2 separate regions of the Homo sapiens genome follow, and region 1 is linked to region 2. Evidence: promoter capture Hi-C in 16 types of primary human blood cells and fetal thymus (Javierre and others, 2016). All regions are on one chromosome and are shown on one strand. Each heading gives the region's core, a stretch centred on a gene start or on the middle of the fragment in contact. The rest is flanking DNA. Distances are from core to core; before and after follow the strand shown. Region 1 overlaps NUP98 (nucleoporin 98 and 96 precursor). Region 2 holds the start of TAF10 (TATA-box binding protein associated factor 10).

Region 1 (2,805 bases), core at 135-2,634, 2.8 Mb before region 2:
CTGTCTCAAAAACAAAGAAACAAACAAACAAAAAAACAACAAAAAAAGAAGATCTGCATAACTCAGTAAATCAATAATTTCAAAATCAACATGCATCATGTTATAAAATCACAGAAGTGTAAAGGTCTATTCAAAGTACAACACAGACCAATGGTTTTTAATACAACAGAATACAAAAGTTCAATGACACAGTTTCAGATTCCATACTGTAATGAACCTTTAAAAAGGTTTGAGGCCGGGCACGGTGGCTCACGTCTGAAATCCCAGCACTTTGGGAGGCCAAGGCAGGCGGATCACTTGAGGCCAGGAGTTCAAACCCAACATGGCGAAACCCCGTCTCTACTAAAAATACAAAAAATTAGCCCAGCGTGGTGATGTGCACCTGTAGTCCCAGCAACTCAGGAGGCTGAGGCAGGAGAATTGCTTGAACCTGGGAGGCGGAGGTTGGAGTACGCTGAGATAGCGCCACTGCACTCCGACTTGGGCGACAGAGCACGACTCCGTCTCAAAAAAACAAACAAATAAAAAGGTTTGACTGTAGTGTCAAAGAGCAGTTAGAATTATCTGAAAAGGCCATTAAAATACTCCTCTCTTTTCCAACTATGTATCTGTATGAGGCTAGATTTTCTTCACATACTTCAAACAAAACAACATAATATATGTCAGAATGCAAAGACTGGTACATTTAGAGGTCTTCTTTTTATGATATGGAGTCTTGCTCTGTCACCCAGGATGAAGCACAGTGGTGCAATCTGCGCTCACTGCAACCTCTGCCTCCTGGGTTCAAGCGATTCTCTGCCTCAGCCTCCCAGTAGCTGGGACTACAGGTGCGTGTCACTGTGCCCAACTAATTTTTCTATTTTTAGTAGATTCAGGGTTTCACCATATTAGCCAGGATGGTCTCAAACTCCTAACCTTGTGATCCACCCGCTTCAGCCTCCCAAAGTGCTGGATTACAGGTGTGAGCCACCACACCCGGCCAGCTACCACTATATTTTTAAGAATTTTTCTTTCCTTACTAAAAAAAACTGCAAGTATTTCCCATTACACTGAATTAAGTACAAATTCCTCAATGTGGTAATTATGGCTGGGCATGGTGGCTCACGCCTGTAATCCCAGCACTTTGGGAGGCCAAAGCGGGTGGATTGCTTGAGGTCACGAGTTCCAGATCAGCCTGGCCAACATGGTGAAAGCCTGTCTCTACTAAAAATACAAAATTAGCTGGGTGTGGTGGCACGCACCTGTAATCCAGCTACTCGGGAGGCTGAGGCAAGAGAATTGCTTGAACCCACGAGGCGGAGGTTGCGGTGAGCCAAGATCACATCATTGCACTCCAGCCGGGGCAACAAGAGCGAAACTCTGTCTCAAAAAATAAATAAATAAATAAATACATGTGAAATATTTTCACTAAAGTAGTAGTCTCAATCAAGGGCAATTCTGACAATTTCTTCAGACATTCCTGATCGTTACAACCTGCAGAGGATGTGTTATGGGTATCTAATGGGTAGAGGTAGGAATGTTGCTAAATATCCTACAATATACAACAGAGCCCCCACGATAATTATCTGGCCCAAAGTCTCAAAGTTCCAAAGCTGAGAAACCTTTCTCTAGAGCCATACTGTGCCAAATACTTACGGTCAATTTCAAACAAAAAGAATGCACCAAGTTCTCAGGAAATGTTTACCTACCTTGCCTCTAATACATACTGTTTTGTTTTGTTTCTTTTCTTTTTTTCTTGAGTCAGAGTCTCGCTGTCGCCCAGGCTGGAGTGCAGTGGCACAATCTTGGCTCACTGCAACCTCCGCCTCCCGAGTTCAAGCAATTCTCCTCCCTCAGCCTCCCGAGTAGCTGGGGCAATGGGCGCATGCTGCCACGCCCAGCTAATTTTTCATATTTTTTTTTAAGTACAGATGGGGTTTCACCATGTTGCCCAGGCTGGTCTCAAACTCCTGAGCTCAGGCAATCCACCCGCCTCGGCCTCCCAAAGTGCTAGGATTACAGGCGTGAACCACCACACCACGCCTTTGTTTTAAGACAGGGCCTCACGCAGTTTCCCAGGCTGGAAAGCAGTGGTGCAATCACAGCACTGCAGTCTCAATCTTCCAGGCTCTGATGTTTCTTTGATTTCAGCCTCCTAAGTAGCTGGAGTACAGGTGCATGCCACCATACCTGCCTAATTTTTGTATTTTTCGTAGAGACAGGGTTTCCCCATGTTGCCCAGGCTAGTCTTGAACTTCTGGGCTCAGGAAATCCACCTGCCTTGACCTTTGAAGTGCTGGGATTACAGTAGTCAGTCACCATGCTCAGCCAATACTTATCCTTAAATCTCTGAGTTTCTTAGTTCCCTAACCTTTCAACAAATTACATAACTGCATAGTCTCATTATTGGAAATTAAACATTAGTACCATCATTCTTTACTTTCCAGGTTAACTACCACCACATAAATCATATTACAAGAAAATAATATAATTTTTTCAAAGCCGTAAATTTAGTTCCTTAAAAATTCTACTTGCTCTTAGTTATCTAGGACCTAGTAGACATAAAGTCAGGTACTGGCTGGGCACAGTGGCTCATACCTGTAATCCCAGCACTTTGGGAGGCCGAGGTGGGGGATGGCTTGAGCCCAGGAATTCGATACCAGCCTGGGCAACATAGCGAAACCCTGTCTCTACCCAAAATATACAAAAAAATATTAGCTGGGTATGGTGGTGCACACCTGTGGTCTCAGCTACTTGGGAGGCTGAGGTGGGAAGATTGCTTGAGCCCAGGAGGTAGAGGCTACTGTGAACCGAGATTGCGCCACT
Region 2 (2,853 bases), core at 223-2,722:
CCCTTCCCCCATCCCTACCACTGTGGCCCCAAGAGGGGCGGGCTCAGAGCTTTGTCACTTGCCACATGGTGTCTCCCAACATGGGAGGGATCAGCCCCGCCTGTCACAATAAAGTTTATTATGAAAACAGGCTGGTGTGGGGACATGGGGACAGATAAGTACATTTAGGTTGGGTGGCTCAGGTGAAGTAGTGCGGCTTCTTCACATTGATGCCATACTCGCTGAGGGCAGGGGTCAAGTCCTCCATGGTTAGAGTGTACTTGCGGTCCTGAGGGAAGAGGGAAGAGCACCAACTGAGCACAGGAATCCCGGACTTCAATCCCAGATGGGTGACCCTGAGTAAGTCTTACACCTCCCCTACGATTCAGTTTCCCCAAAGGGGTGGCAGGATAAGCCTCCACTGTTGTGGAAGGTAATTACTGATTCATTAAGCCTCCCCTCACACCTTGCTCTTGCTCCGGGAGCTGCCGGAGGCCGTGCCCTTCATTTTGCAGTGCTGTAGGGCATCATTGGCAATATCTGAGATGAATTTCTGGGCAGCTAAGGAGATGAGCCGAATTCTAGAGAGAAAAAACTTAGATGAGAAGGAGATGGACAACATACTGCACAAGCACCCAAAACTAACCTGCCCTGGGTTTACTCACATGCGTGGGTCTGAGGCCTCAAAGCCAGCACGGTTCAGGTAGTAACCAGTCACTGCATCTGGGATCTGAGAAATCAATTAAGAGAACTGTCAGCAGAGCGGGAGGAGGGTGAGGGAAATGGATAGGCCTGATTATCAGGAAGCTCACAGTTTGGGTGAGCAGAGGGCAAACACAGAAGAGCGACTAGGGGAGCAAATGGAAGAGAACGCTGAAAAGCACGATGTGGCTGAAAGTTTTGACAGCAGGCTAGGTGGCCTTGTTCGGGCGGAAGCCCACCGTAGGCGTGTAATCTTCCAGCTGCATCAAGAAGTCCACCAAAGGCGTGCTGGACACCACGGGCTTCACGTCTCCGTTGGCCGCGCTCGGCAGTACGTAAACCCCGTTAGATATGGCCCCCTCCGGGGGCGCCGCGCCACCCGCCGACACCGGAGCTGGAGGAGAACCAGCAAAATGAGACACAGAGGTGGGAGGCGCAGGGCCCCAGCTAGGTCTGTCTATACCCTCTGCCCTCACCCGCCGCTGGACCCAGCCCAAGACGCTTCCCTCGCCCTCACCCGTCCCGGCCCTCACCCGCCCCACGCCGCTCAGCTGGCTCCCCGGCCCGCGCCGCCAAGGGTCCCGTGCCCCCAGCAGCTGCTCCAGCCCCAGGTCCCCCCGCTGTCCCCGCGGGGCTGGCCTTGTTCTCCGCGGCGGTGCTGGAGGGCAGCGCGGCGGGAGCCGAGACCGGGGGCGCGGGGCCCGGGGCCGAGGCGGCGGAGGCCGGCGCCGCCTCGGGGTCCGCGCCGGAGCCGCTGCAGCTCATCGGGCCGGTGGGAGAGGCGGCGAACAGAGCCGCTTCCGCTTCCGCTCGCGCCGCGCACACCCCGGGGTGACGTCACGCGCCCACGACTCGCCCCGCCTGTCTCTGTTAGTGCTCTCCAGCCCGCTCCCCGCCTCCTCCCATAGTGGATCTGCGGGTTAGAGGAAATAGGCTGCAGGGCGGAGACCGAGCCTTGGCGAACTGCGCTGCCGTAGCCATTCCGCCCTAGCCTCTGCCGTGCTCCGCGGCGATTCCGTCCAGACCGGAACCAGCGTGCGTCTGGCTCTCCTCCGCCGCTCTGGGACACCTCATTCTGTCTGACGCTCAAGACCTGGCTTCGACGTTTATGGCCCTATGTCCCTCGACTACGGGTTGCCTGCCTGTCTGCATCGTTTCAAGTTCCCTTATTCAGCCTTTTAAGGATTCATAGTGGATTTGGAAAGCCCCCTCTCTTCTCCGCCAGCTGCCCCGAGAGGTGGGGGCAGCAGTGGGGCGGCACACAGTGCTGCTGTAGGAGGAGGAGGAGTTTCAGCCTGAGTCAACAACATATGCAAAAATCACAACGAATGAGAGGCGTGAGGTTTTCGGTGTAGCAGACATTTAATTCTTATTTGCCAACTCCTGAGCTAGGACCTGGGAACACAAAGTTAAATAGGACACGATTCTAGTCCTCTAGGCACCAACGGTCTTGGAAAGGAAGGCAGACAAGTAAACTGGCCATTTCAATACTACGTGGTCGTTACAATGCTAGAGGTAGGCACAGGGGGCGCAGTGCAAGGGAGGAAGGGCGTTAACATCTGCCACCTACTTCCAGGTGCCAAGCACTGTTATCAACATTATTCCACTTTATTCCCTGGTGATTATGAAAGGCAGGTATTGATATTCACACTTAACAGACGAGGAAACAGCCTCAGGGAGATAAGCTTACTTGACCCAGTCTCTCTCCTAGTCCATATCAGAACCAAGATTCAAACAGGTTTTGTTTAGAAAATCTAGGATTTTTCAGCCATACCAAAATAAAGTAGCCTCAGGGAATCAAAACATTCACGAAAGAAGGTGACTTCTGAACTGAGTCTTGCAAGAATTCTGGAAATTAACCTGGCAGTTGTATCAGGGGTGGTAAGGGGACGGAACAGCTTGAGCAAGAGTGAGAGTTCCTTGGGGTTTGGGGAGGGAGGAGGAAAAATGATTTTTTACTTAAGAACAAATAGCAAGGAAGGTTTGTGAGCTATGATTGGGGGCTGGAGGGGAAAGCCTGAATTCTATCCAGTAATCCTTGAAGGGTTTTCATCCAAGTGGCCTGATGGGATTTGCATTTTACTCTGGAAGATGACTTGGGGATTGGCAGGAAGTAAGGACACTTTTTTTCAAGAGAATATAGCCCTAAACTAAGGTAGTAGCAGTGGGGAT

What was found. Contacts are between HindIII fragments. The CHiCAGO score rates a contact against its expected background, and 5 or more counts as called.
Region 1: a contact is called between a fragment that was not itself captured here and the fragment with the promoter of TAF10 in region 2, in 1 of 17 cell types (neutrophils). The highest score is 5.9, in neutrophils.

Annotation. Positions count from the first base shown.
Region 1 is chr11:3,792,604-3,795,408 of GRCh38, forward strand. The region is part of intron 1 of NUP98 (nucleoporin 98 and 96 precursor); the gene reads right to left. Among named protein-coding and RNA genes, the nearest start is that of NUP98, 3.5 kb to the right of the region's middle. The HindIII fragment of the contact is 3,504 bases long and covers 1-2,805 here.
Region 2 is chr11:6,610,744-6,613,596 of GRCh38, forward strand. It overlaps TAF10 (TATA-box binding protein associated factor 10), which reads right to left and starts at 1,473. Exons shown (of 5, transcript NM_006284.4): 1 at 1,215-1,473; 2 at 921-1,075; 3 at 645-709; 4 at 446-560; 5 at 1-268. The coding sequence starts at 1,446. The coding sequence ends at 179. It overlaps TPP1 (tripeptidyl peptidase 1), which reads right to left. Exons shown (of 13, transcript NM_000391.4): 13 at 2,025-2,853. ILK (integrin linked kinase) reads left to right here. Exons shown (of 13, transcript NM_004517.4): 13 at 1-127. RefSeq lists enhancers at 88-676, 677-1,264, 1,720-1,849, 1,900-1,949 and silencers at 1,120-1,319, 1,330-1,429. The HindIII fragment of the contact is 6,165 bases long and covers 1-2,364 here.